2 separate regions of the Homo sapiens genome follow, and region 2 is linked to region 1. The links are contacts of gene promoters, found by promoter capture Hi-C in human tissues and cell types (Jung and others, 2019). All regions are on one chromosome and are shown on one strand. Each heading gives the region's core, a stretch centred on a gene start or on the middle of the fragment in contact. The rest is flanking DNA. Distances are from core to core; before and after follow the strand shown.

Evidence for each region. Contacts are between HindIII fragments. The study calls those that stand out against the background at their distance.
Region 2: a contact is called between the fragment with the promoter of LCN1 here and the fragment with the promoter of PPP1R26 in region 1, in 1 of the 25 tissues and cell types used here (psoas muscle).

What each region holds. Positions count from the first base shown.
Region 1 is chr9:135,477,197-135,483,016 of GRCh38, forward strand. PPP1R26 (protein phosphatase 1 regulatory subunit 26) reads left to right here and starts at 2,586. Exons shown (of 4, transcript NM_014811.5): 1 at 2,586-2,826; 2 at 5,487-5,619. RefSeq lists silencers at 3,108-3,167, 3,178-3,227. The HindIII fragment of the contact is 17,940 bases long and covers 1-5,820 here.
Region 2 is chr9:135,519,022-135,524,841 of GRCh38, forward strand. LCN1 (lipocalin 1) reads left to right here and starts at 2,419. Exons shown (of 7, transcript NM_002297.4): 1 at 2,419-2,566; 2 at 3,026-3,156; 3 at 4,211-4,281; 4 at 4,859-4,969; 5 at 5,809-5,820. The coding sequence starts at 2,477. RefSeq lists an enhancer at 5,284-5,820. The HindIII fragment of the contact is 21,100 bases long and covers 1-5,820 here.

The DNA of each region.
Region 1 (5,820 bases), core at 1,336-3,835:
GGTGAATGATTATGAAATCTTAGAGTGGTAAAAGCTATTCCAGGCCTTACCCCAAAGCCAGAAACCACAAAAGAAAACTTGATTGATTTAGCTACAGAAGAACTTCAAACTTGTGTGTAGTAAAAAAATAAAAAGGCAGGACACAGTAGCTCCCATCTGTAATCCCAGCACTTTGGGAAGCCAAGGAGGGTGGATCACTCAAGCCAGGAGTTCAAGACCAGCCTGGGGAACATGGCAAAACCCCATCTCTACAAAAACATACAAAAACTAGCCAGGCGTGGTGACGTGCACCTGTAGTCCCAGCTACTGGGGAGGCTGAGGTGGGAGGATAACCTGAGCCGGGGGAGGTTGAGGCTGCAGTGCCATGATCACGCCACTACACTCCAGCCTGGGTGTACACAGAGTAAGACCCTGTCTCAAAAAAAAAAAAAAAAAAAAAAAAAGGTTGAACAAACAAAAAACCAAAATCCAAAGTCAAAAGAAAAATGACAGAAAAATAAATGCAATGTACAAGAGTATATTGTACTACTGTACAATATTCTGTGTTATTGTACTGTTGTACAATACACTTTTTTTCTGAGACAGAGTCTCGCTCTGTCACCCAGGCTGGAGTGCTGTGGCACCGTCTCGGTTCACTGCAACCTCCACCTCCTGGGTTCAAGCAATTCTCCTGCCTCAGCCTCCCGATTATCTGGGATTACAGGCACCCGCTACCACACCCGGTTAATTTTTGTATTTTTTAGTAGAGACGAGGTTTCATCATGTTAGCCAGGCTGGTCTCAAACTCCTGACTTCAGGTGATCTGCCCAACTTGGCCTCCCAAAGTGCTGGGATTACAGGGGTGAGCCGCCGCGCCCGACCATACATTGCATTTACGCTCTTGTACAGAGTAGCATACAGCACAGAGAAGAGCTAAATTCCTTACGGTAACAAGCTCTTAGAATCCCTAAGAAAAAGACACACAGCCCAACAGAAAAATAAAAAATGGGCAAAGAACACAGACAGGCAATATTCCAAATGGCCAATAATAAAATGAAAAGATGTTCAACATCACCAGCAGTCAAAGAAATTAGGATTCAAGTGATGAAAAGGGCTGTTTCGCCTATCAGACTGCCAAAGACATAACGCAATGACATATCTCAGGGCTGGCAAGAGGACAGGCAAGCGGGCATGCCCGCTCACCAGTGGGTGGACGGCAGGCTGGCCCCGCATTTCTGGAGGGCATTTTGGCAAAATGCAGCATAGTCTTTGGCCCGCCGGCCTCTTCTAGGGATTTGCCCGCAGGAAATGCTCAGAGCCGCTCTAAGGAGGCATCATGAAAGCTGTTCACCACAGCACTGTTTTAAAAACTGTGAAGCAGCATGCCAAAACCTTAACAGCCCATGTCTCTGGGAAGTCACCTTATTAATTAGATCATCTCCCCAAAGTTTGGTAATGAAAGAGTATTATTTCATGAGAAAAAAAAAATTGCTTTTTGAAAAAATTCACGAAGGCATTAAAACAATTCTTTAATGGGTTTCCTGACCCAAAACTGGCCCTCCAGCTTCCCAGGCTGGCATGACTAGAAGCACCCCTCCAAGGCAAGTCTCTGATTTTGATCCTATCAAATCTCTGACACTTTCTAGACAGGAACCGAACCCACAAATTCATCTCCCAGACACGTGTGGATCAGGGCCCAGGGGGCTTACAGAAGCAGCGCGGTGCCCCTGCGCACCATCTGCCCCTTCCACGAGTGGGCGCTGAGGGAGGATCCAGTCGGGTCTGCCCGTTCCCCGCCGCCCGGGGATGCTGAGCACACCCGGGCCACCGCCAGCCTCGGGCACACACCCTGGACCTTTTATAAAACAAAACTGGGAAGACTTTCAAGGTCACATGGTCAGTGCACAGCAGAAGCAGAAACAGCAGCGGCCTCAAGGTCCGGGGCAGTTCCTAGAAACTGTTCCCTCCCCCGAACCTGGCGGCAGGTGTGCTCGAGGAGCCGCCGCCCCGGGCAGGTCGTGCGTCCACTCCCCGCCGCAAGCTCGGGTGGGGCAGCCGCGGGGACACGCGGGGGCCGCCCCCGACCCCGGCCCAAGGCTGTGGGGCTGGAGGGGCGGGCGGGCCGGTCTCAGCCCGGAGCCCCGCGTGAACTTCGGGGAGGAACTCGGTTGGCGCCGGGGCCCCGCACGCTCCCTTCCCGCGGCTCCGAGCGCTTTCCCACGGCCACGCCCCCCGCGCCCAGAACTTCCCGGCGACCCCGCGCCCCCTGCGCGCCCCCCGGAGGTGGCCGCGGTACGGGAGGCGGGCAGCACGGGGCTCGGCCCGGCCCAAGCGCCTTCGCCCCGCACCCCGCGGAGGGGGCCGCGTCCGAACCGGGCGGGGCGGGGCGGGGGCGTCCCCGGGGCGCGGGCGCGGCGGCAGGTGGGCGCGCTCTCGCGGGCGGGGGTCCGGCCGGGCCGCGCGCCTCCCCCGGAACTCGGCCGTGCCATTCCCATGATGCCCAGCCACGGGCACGGCTTCCGGAGTGCGGCCGCCGCCGCCACCGTCCGGTAGGTCGCGGGGAGGGGGCGGCTTGGGGGGGTCGCCCCGCCCCCCGCCCCGCCCCTCCCCTCCCGCGCTTCCCACGGCGCGGCCCGGGCGCGGGGCGGCGGCAGCGGCGGCGCGCGGGGAGGCGGGGAGGCGGGGGGCCCGGCCGGACGCCCCTGCGCCCCCTCCCCGCGCCCCGGCCGAGGGCGGAGCGCGCTGGCCCTGCAGCCTCCGGCCCGCCCCCGGCCCGCCGCCTCCCCCGGGACGTGGGACGCGGGCGCAGGCGGGGTCCGCGCGGCGGGCGGCGGGGGACGGGCGGAGGTGAGCGGGTGCAGGGCCGGGGCCGGGGGGCTCGGGGGCTGGGAAGCTGGGGGGTCGGGGACAGGAGGGCCAGCCAGGCCGGGGCCGGCGCGCCGTGCAGGCCGCGGCGGGCGGGCGGCGGGGGCTCCCCGAGGCAGGCGGACGGGGATCGGCGCCGGGGCTGCTCCGTTCCCCGGGCGGGGATCCTGTCTCTGGCCTCCGTGCGACTCTCGGCCCGCGCGCCCCGCGCTCCTGGAGCCCCAGGTGAGGCGCAGGTGAGGGCCCGCGGTGGGGAGCTTTGGCCCGGCCCGGGGCGGCCGCTGCCCTCCGAGAATGGCCGCGGCCCGGCCGGCCTGGAGACTGCGGTTCACGCCCTGCGCCAGGCGGAGCTTCCGGGAGGGTGGCCGCTCTCCCGGGCCCCAAGCTCGCTAGTCCTCGGATCCCAGAAACATAACTCCGGGGGTGCAGACCTGCTTGGAGGCCCGGCCTCTTCCCTGGGAGGCGTTCACTCCCGCCGGGCCGAGGACCAGGTCGCCGATCCCAGCGGCTAGGGTGAGCGCGCCCTCGGGGAGGGGAGCTCCCTTGGGGGACCCTGCCCAGCCCGCAGGCCGTGAGTAGCCCAAGCTTGGGAGTCAGGGGAGGTCGGGCCGGGGCAGCCGGGAGGGGCTCACCTTGCCTTCAGTTCCCAAGCACAGGAAATGGCGGTGCAGCTTTGCTGGGGGACGCTTGTAGTGAGGTTGTAAAATTGCAGCTTCTGGAAGGCTGGGAGCTGAATTCTAGCCCACGCCCACTTCTGGGTGGCTGGAGCGGGTCCTCCTGCTGCCCCGCCCGCTCCTGCACCGGGGCTCCTCTCCCTGGCCTGCAGACCCTGGCCTCCCTACCCTGGGGGGAAACCCCACCTGGGAGGTAAGACCGCTGGCTGAGCTGCTTTTCGGCCAACCGAGAAATGTAGAGTATTTGGGGGCGTTTCTCACAGGTGGGCAGACTGTTAGGATGGCGAGGGCCCAGTGTGGGTGCTTTGGTTCTCTCCAGAAGGTTGATGTCTGGACCGAGAAGGTACCCGAGTGTTCTCCACCGCTTCCTAAAATCTGACACCGTGTGGCCTTGGGGTGCAGGTGCTGGGTGTCCCCACAGCCACCCTCAAGACCGTATCCTGAGGCAGCAATTTGACAAAGCCTGCACCTCTGGCTTGGGCCCACACCTATCTCTAAGGACTGATTAGGGGGCTTTTCTTGTTTTTTTTTTTTTTTTTTTTTTAGAGCCAGAGTCTCGCTTTGTCGCCCAGGCTGGAGTGCAATGGCTGATCTCGGCTCACTGTAATCTCCGCCTCCCTGGTTCAAGCGATTCTCGTGCCTCAGCCCCTGGAGTAGCTGGAACTACAGACGTGGGCTCCCACGCCCAGCTAATTTATGTGTTTTTAGTAGAGATGGGGTTTCGCCATGTTGGCCAGGCTGGTCTCGAACTCCTGGCCTCAAGTGATCCACCTGCCTCCACCTCCCAGAGTGCTGGGATTACAGGTGTGAGCCACTATCCCCGACCCAGGGGGCTTTTCAAGAATGATTCATCTCGCATAATGTTTTAAAGCCACAAGCTGTCCTGGGGAGACGACCCCCCTCGATTTTTTTTTTTCTTTCTGAGATGGAGTCTCGTTCTGTCTCCTAGGCTGGAGTGCAGTGGCGCGATCTCGGCTCACTGCAACCTCTGCCTCCTGGGTTCAAGCAATTCTCCTGTCTCAGCCTCCCCAGTAGCTGGGATTACGGGCACACGCCACCACGCCCAGCTAATTTTTGTATTTTTAGCAGAGGAGGGGTTTCACCATATTGGCCAGGCTGGTCTCAAACTCCTGACCTCAGGTGATCCACCTGCCTCAGCCTCCCAAAGTGCTGGGATTACAGGCGTCAGCCACTGCACCTGGCCAGATTTTTTAATACCATTCTTGAACTAGGTGATTTGACAACTTAGAAAACTGTTCACTGGGTGTCCAGGCCTTCTCTGCAACCAGTCAGAAGCTGTAAATGTGGCTAGTGGAGAACAGACTATTTCCCCAGGAAAACTCCCCTCCCCGACCTTGTCATCTAGTGTAAAGACACTGACTTGGGCCGGTTTTCTTAAGGTAGTATTTAAGGTAGTATTCTTAAGGTAGTATTGCTGTTTAAGGAGTCAATAGTCTTAATTTAGACGCTCCTCAGCCCAAGGCTAATGCAAATGTTTTGTCATTTATGTCATTTTGCAGAGGCAATTTGAATAACACCTACAGTAAGGCAGGCGTGGGTTTGCTAGCCAGTGAAAGAGCTCCTCTCGCATTGTTGGTCCCCCAGTGCTCTGTGTCAGTGGGGAATCTCTCCAGAAGGTGACTTTATGGGGGATGTCATGGGCTGCAGTGGGTGGCCAGAATTTGAGAACTAGCAGATAACGTCACATACGTGCCCCATCCCCATCACTTCAGCCAGCATCAGATCTGCTGTCCAGGATAGCTATACATTACTTGTGGTTAAATGTATTTGTCTTAATACATTAAGTTAAATATATTTGTACTTGTGGTTAAATGTCTTAGAGTAAGTTCCTTCAAAAGTTAATTTTGAGCCCTTAAGTTAATGATATTTCTTTCCAAAAAAAAAAAATTTATCAACTGTAGCTTCAGCCTGTAATTAGATGCCTCTGATTCTCTTTGATTCTGGTAGTCAAAAGTCTATTGAAAAAGCAGAGAGAGAATGCCTCGGTGTGTAAGTGGAGTGATGAGGACCTGATCTCTGGGCCGTGTGGGAACACTGGCTGCCATTTCATCACAGTCAACCTGGACTCACAGAATTTCAAGTAATTTCAAGTAATTCTTGTATTTTAGTTTCCCTTGTAGGGCACAAATTGGTGCTAGCAAATGACTTACTTCTGAATCTGTCTCACCCCCTGGTTAATTGCTGGTTACCCCTTTTGGGCTCACCTGTGTGTAGGTGGCCAGGCTCACCTTTTGTTTCTTTTTCTTTCTTTCTTTTTTTTTTTTTTTTTTTTGAGATGGAG
Region 2 (5,820 bases), core at 1,169-3,668, 42 kb after region 1:
TTCAAGCAATTCTCCTGCCTTTGCCTCCTGAGTAGCTGGGATTACAGGTGCACGCCACCATGCCTGGCTAATTTTTGTATTTTTAGTCAAGATGGGGTTTCACCATGTTGGTCAGGTTGGTCTCAAACTCCTGACCTCACCTTGGCTTCCCAGAGTGCTGGTATTACAGGCATGAGCCACCACACTGGGCCTCAGTTGTTTTTTAATGTCCGAGATGTCTTTATTTTGCCTTCAATATTTTATGAAAGTTGCACTGAGAATAACATTCACAGGTAAATGTGATTTCTCCCGGGTCTGTTAAAGACGTCACTCCACTGTCTTCCGGAAGGCAGCGTTGCTATTGAGAGGTCTGCCATCAGTCCACATCCGCTTTTATGGTATGTAGTGTGGCTCTTCTTTCTGGTCATTTTGACTTTTTTTCTCCTTTCCTGGATGATCTGCATTTCACTGTAATATTCTAGGAGTGGATTTCTCAATTTTGATCATTCCTTGGTAATTTAGATCTGGGGTGTCATCTTCATGTCTTTTCAATTCTGAAGAATTCTGAGCTATTCTGTTGCTTTGTTGCCATTTTAGAAAATGTTTTTCTTTCAGAACTCCTATTCTGTTTATATTGGAACCTCCTGATCTATTCTCCATGTGTGTTAACTTTGTGCATGTGTGTGCATGTGTGTATGTGTGTGAGTGTGCATGTGTGTGTGTATGTGTGCATGTATGTGCATGTATGTATGAATGAATGGTGTGTGCACGCGTGTATGTCTGCGTGTGTATGTGGGTGTGCATGTGTATGGGTTTGTGTGCATTTGTATGTGTGCACATGTGTGTGTGTGCATGTGTGTGTGCGTGTGTGTGCATGTGTGTGTGTATATCTCTGTGTGTTGTGTTTTCAGAGCTGCTGCACTCTAGTTGGTTTCCTCCACTCATTTTATTACTAGCTCCAGGCTGGAGACTGAATCTATCTGTAACACCTCAATTTCTCTTTTGAATTTTTCTGCTTTCATTGATTTTGTTAGTACTATCTTCCATGACACTAAGTCTCTTTTCTACTATGTCAAGTCTGGAATTTAACCTGTCTATTGAGTTTTTTATTCACTTTATTATTCATCTTCAAGATTTGTAATTATTTCTATTTCGTCTCTCCTTATTTCTTATATTCTGGCCAGTTCTAATTTTATACTTTATATATTTTTAAATCACTAGGCATCTTGATCATACTCCTGCAGTTTTAAAGTGTGTGTCAGACTTTCCTTGGCTGGTGTAAGTTCCTGTACCAATTGCTCATTTTTAGCCTGCCTTTCTTAGTGTGGTGTTTCCTTGGGTAATTTGGAACCTGGCCTTTCTAGCTTATTTCAAGGTGAGGATATTGTGTCTCTGCATTTCTGCCTTTCTCTGCCATCTTGTTGTCACTGTCCTCTGTCTAGCAGTGTTTTGTAGCCTCTGCTCCCATCCCGGGTCCCAGGCTTCTGCTCTGCAGTGATGCAGAGCATGTCACAGATAAAGTCATCCTTTCCAAGGACGGCTTGTCTCAGCTTCTGCCCTTGAGGCTGTGTTGATGTCCTCTTGCCTTCCTATGCCCACAGTGCTCCACTAAGTTATACGAAGTTACAGCCCTGGGATGTGTCAAGGAGGGTTTCTCAGCCTTCTTTCTGGAGTCAGGGAAGCCCCTCCCATCACTCCCAGGAGCCGGACCTAGGCCCTCTCTGCCTGCCTTGGGACTTGGAGCTGACAGGCCCCTGCCTCTGCCCCATCACCAGCCTGTGCTTCTCCTCCATTCCTTGTTTTATGTGAGTGTGTGTGCGTTTGTGCATGTATATATGTACACACATGCATACACACACACACACCTGTCTTGGTCTTCTGTCTGTCTGACCTATTGCTGCTCTGTGTGTGGAGCAGAGAGGGTCGTTACTGCACACCTTGCTCAGGACAGTGGACACCGTCTTTAAATGCACACGGGATCGTGTTCACACAGGAGGGTCCCTTTTTTTCCATGATGAATCTGAGGCCAAGTAACCTGCCCAGAGATGCAGGAAGCTCAGCTGAGCCCCAAGCCCACGGCCCTCGGACTCCAACCCCAAACCCCCTTGACAGTGTGCACGTCAGCAAGTGTGGGATGGCTGGGGGGCATCTGTTACGGCTGCACACGTCCCCAGGAGGCCTGCACACCCTTCACTCCCTTCAGTTTCCCTTCAGGTGAAATCTGCAAATCTGCTCCTCTGGACCTGGTCCTGTCCAAGTGATCCTCTGGGATTAACAAGCTGTTATTCACCAGCCTCCAACAATAATGGCAGGTTATCTGCTCCATTGCAGAACTGGCAGTGGTTTACATCCAGGAAGGGATTGGTCAGTCTCCTGTGCCAGGTCCCTGGGGGACCCTGAGCCCAGCGGTATAAAGGGCGGCTGTGGGAGGACTGGTACAGCCTCTCCCAGCCCCAGCAAGCGACCTGTCAGGCGGCCGTGGACTCAGACTCCGGAGATGAAGCCCCTGCTCCTGGCCGTCAGCCTTGGCCTCATTGCTGCCCTGCAGGCCCACCACCTCCTGGCCTCAGACGAGGAGATTCAGGATGTGAGGCCCGGATGGGAAGGCTGGGCTGGAGGGGGCAAGGGGCGAGGCTGAGACTGGATGGAGACCCCATGCCTCCTCCATCCAAGGAGACCCTCGTTTTTGGGTTGGGCATTCAAGCCCTGCCCTGAGGGAATGGTGGGATGGGGCAGCAGGGGTCTGGGCTGGCAGGGTAGGTGGCGCAGGGGTGCAGAGTGGGCAGGGCTGGGAGGGTGGGGGTCTGGCTGACTTCACTTCTTCCCTGGGGATGAGGGCTCCTGTGGTCCTGGCTGGCTTGTGGGGGCTGGAGCCACCTTCAAGTGGGCCTGGCGAGGGTGCTGGGTGTTTTCTGGGTGGGTTAGATTGGGGAACGTTCCCCGTTTCCAGCCCTCGGGGTGCGGTAGAGTCTAGGGGCTGCAGGCCAGGGAAGGGGGAGGCTCTGGAGCAGTCGGCCTGAGCCTGATAGAGAGGGGCCTTCTCCAGGTGTCAGGGACGTGGTATCTGAAGGCCATGACGGTGGACAGGGAGTTCCCTGAGATGAATCTGGAATCGGTGACACCCATGACCCTCACGACCCTGGAAGGGGGCAACCTGGAAGCCAAGGTCACCATGCTGTGAGTGTCTGCCAGCCGGCCGGGCAGCCTGCAACCTGGTCTAGGGCCTTCCCTTTCCCCACCCAGGAGAGCTCTGGTGCTGGGGAGGTGGGCAGACCTGCTGGGAGGCCTCTCTCGGCCCCTCCTGCAATGCTTGAGGGCAAACTGTGCCACTGAGGTGCCTCGGCTGGAGGGGCCCTGAGGGGGCAGAGGCCCCGGATCAGACCCTGTGGGCTACCAGTGGCAGCCCTGGGTACCGCCCACTTCCTCCTCCGACTAGGGAATGTCTGGTGACGTGCAGGCCCCTTTGGGAAAAGGTGTTTACCCCCGACCAGAGTCAGAGCCAGTCCTGGCAGTAAATTTCTGCTTTGGAGAAGTGCAGGGATGGGGCTTGCAGAATGACCAAGAGGGGGCATAGGAGAAGACACCATGGAGAAGACCCCCTTGAAATCCCTGTGTAGCGCTCACCTGTGCGGCTCTCACCTGGGCTGCTTCCACCCGCGTGGCTCACATCTGTGACTTCCCACCTGTGTGATTTCACCCGCATGGCTCCCTCCTGAGTGGCATGCAGTGCCTGTGCTCCGGTCCTGGGGGCTGAATCTCAGGAAGTCACTGACCCTGGCAATGACCCCGATTTTTTTTTCCCCCAAAGCCCCTCACTGAACCTTTCCCTCTCTGGGCCAGATGATGATGGATATGGGGCTTGTGCCTGAATGTCTCTAAAAGGAAGAATGCAGCTGGCGGGATGAGGCTCAGGCCCACGCCACAGACGCTGCCTGCAAACCAGGCAGCCTGGGTGCCTCTGGCAGGAAATGTGTTGGGGGCGGGGGGTTTGGGAAGGCAGCCACCAGGAGGAGCGGTGCAGAGCTCCTGGCCATCTCGGGAGACCCCGGGAACTGCCGCATGGGACCCGGAGGGGCCGCTGGTGCCTGGGTCTGAGATGCAGAGAAGCACCCTCCTCCATGGGCCTGTGGCAGACTCGGGGCCACATTTGCAGGGCATTGCAGCATGGTTGCTCCAGGGCCGGGGGAGGCACAGGCCAGGGCCGCTTTGCCAGGGGGCTTCTGTTTTCCAGGATAAGTGGCCGGTGCCAGGAGGTGAAGGCCGTCCTGGAGAAAACTGACGAGCCGGGAAAATACACGGCCGGTGAGTCCCGGGGCCTGAGCCAGAGCCTGAGCTTGAACACACGCTGGATGTGCGGGGGCAGCCAGTGCCTTTTTGGGGTGGCCTTTTGGCCTGGGAAGCCTTTTGCTGCCTTCTGACTCCACTAAAAGCCCACTCTCTTCTCCCACTGGTCAATTTGCATTAGAGACTTGAACACCTGACCCCAAACACCAGGTGTGGCAGGTTTGTCCCGGGGCGGACCCTCTGGGCTTGCCCTGTAGCCCTGGCTGTGGCTCTGGCAGGGCCAGGAGCAGAGTCGTATTTGGCTGCGGGGGGCTGTACCCCAACTCCCACCTCCGCAGACCTCATACCCGGAGGAACCCCCCGTGACTCACTGGTTTGGGATGTGGCCGCCTCTTGGGTACATCAGGTTCCTGGGAAGTGGGGGTCCCATGGCCTGGGGCTCAGGCCTGGTGGGGAACCTGGGTCAGGGAGCTCTGGGAGGCTGGGAGGGTGCAGGAGCTGCGGGGCTTGCTGGGCCTGGCAACGCACGCTGTCCCGGGATCCTCTCTGAAGTCCCTGGTGGCTAATTCAGGAATGTGCTGCTGTCTTTCTGCAGACGGGGGCAAGCACGTGGCATACATCATCAGGTCGCACGTGAAGGACCACTACATCTTTTACTGTGAGGGCGAGCTGCACGGGAAGCCGGTCCGAGGGGTGAAGCTCGTGGGTGGGTCCCGCACCCTCACCCTGCAACCCATGCCTCCACCTGCCCTCCCTCCTCCCTCGGCCTCCTGCACCCTCTTCCCCATGGGAGAAGCCACTGGGACCCAGGAACCCACTGCAGTTTTCTTAGGATGAGTTTTCCTGATAAAGGCCTCAATTCCCACCCCTGGAGTTCAGGATTTGGGATGCCCCGGCCTCGGTATCTGCAGCAGAGGCAGGAAGGAGCCACGGCTGCAGGCACAGGGGTTCAAAGGTCACACATGTCCCAGAGTGGGCCAGGCCCTCCCCCGGAGCAGCTCCCTGCAGTGTCATCCTTGAGCGCGTTCCTGTGGGGTGTCCAGCAGGAGAGAGGAACAGGGATGTGAGCAGAAGTCTGCATGGAAAGAACGTTCCAGCTCCCGGGGTTGAATTCCGGACGCGGTGCCTCCCACAGATGGTGACTCATCAGTGCTGTCCCTGTCAGAGGACGAGGCCCATGAAGGCTCCTGAGTTCTCCCTGGAGCCAGGGGTGTGCGAATGACAGAGGATTGGGATCCTGGTGCCCCCAAGGGGAGAGGCGCTTCCTCCAGGGTGGGCCTGTCGTGCCGTCCATCCTCACTCCGGGAGATGCTCAGGGATGGATGGAGAGCCCTTCCCGTTCTCCCGGTTCTGCTGCCACAGGAGCCTTCTCAGCCGTGCACGGCACCCTGGTCCCACTTTGCCAGCCTGAGGGCCTCTGGGTTCAATTCCCCCCACGGTGGGCGAGGTCCCCTTCCCCAGCCCAGCTCAGGCCTCCAGACTGGGATGGGGTGCCGTCGGCCCAGTGCTGCCTCGAGCACCCACATCTCGTCCTGGCACCCACAGGCAGAGACCCCA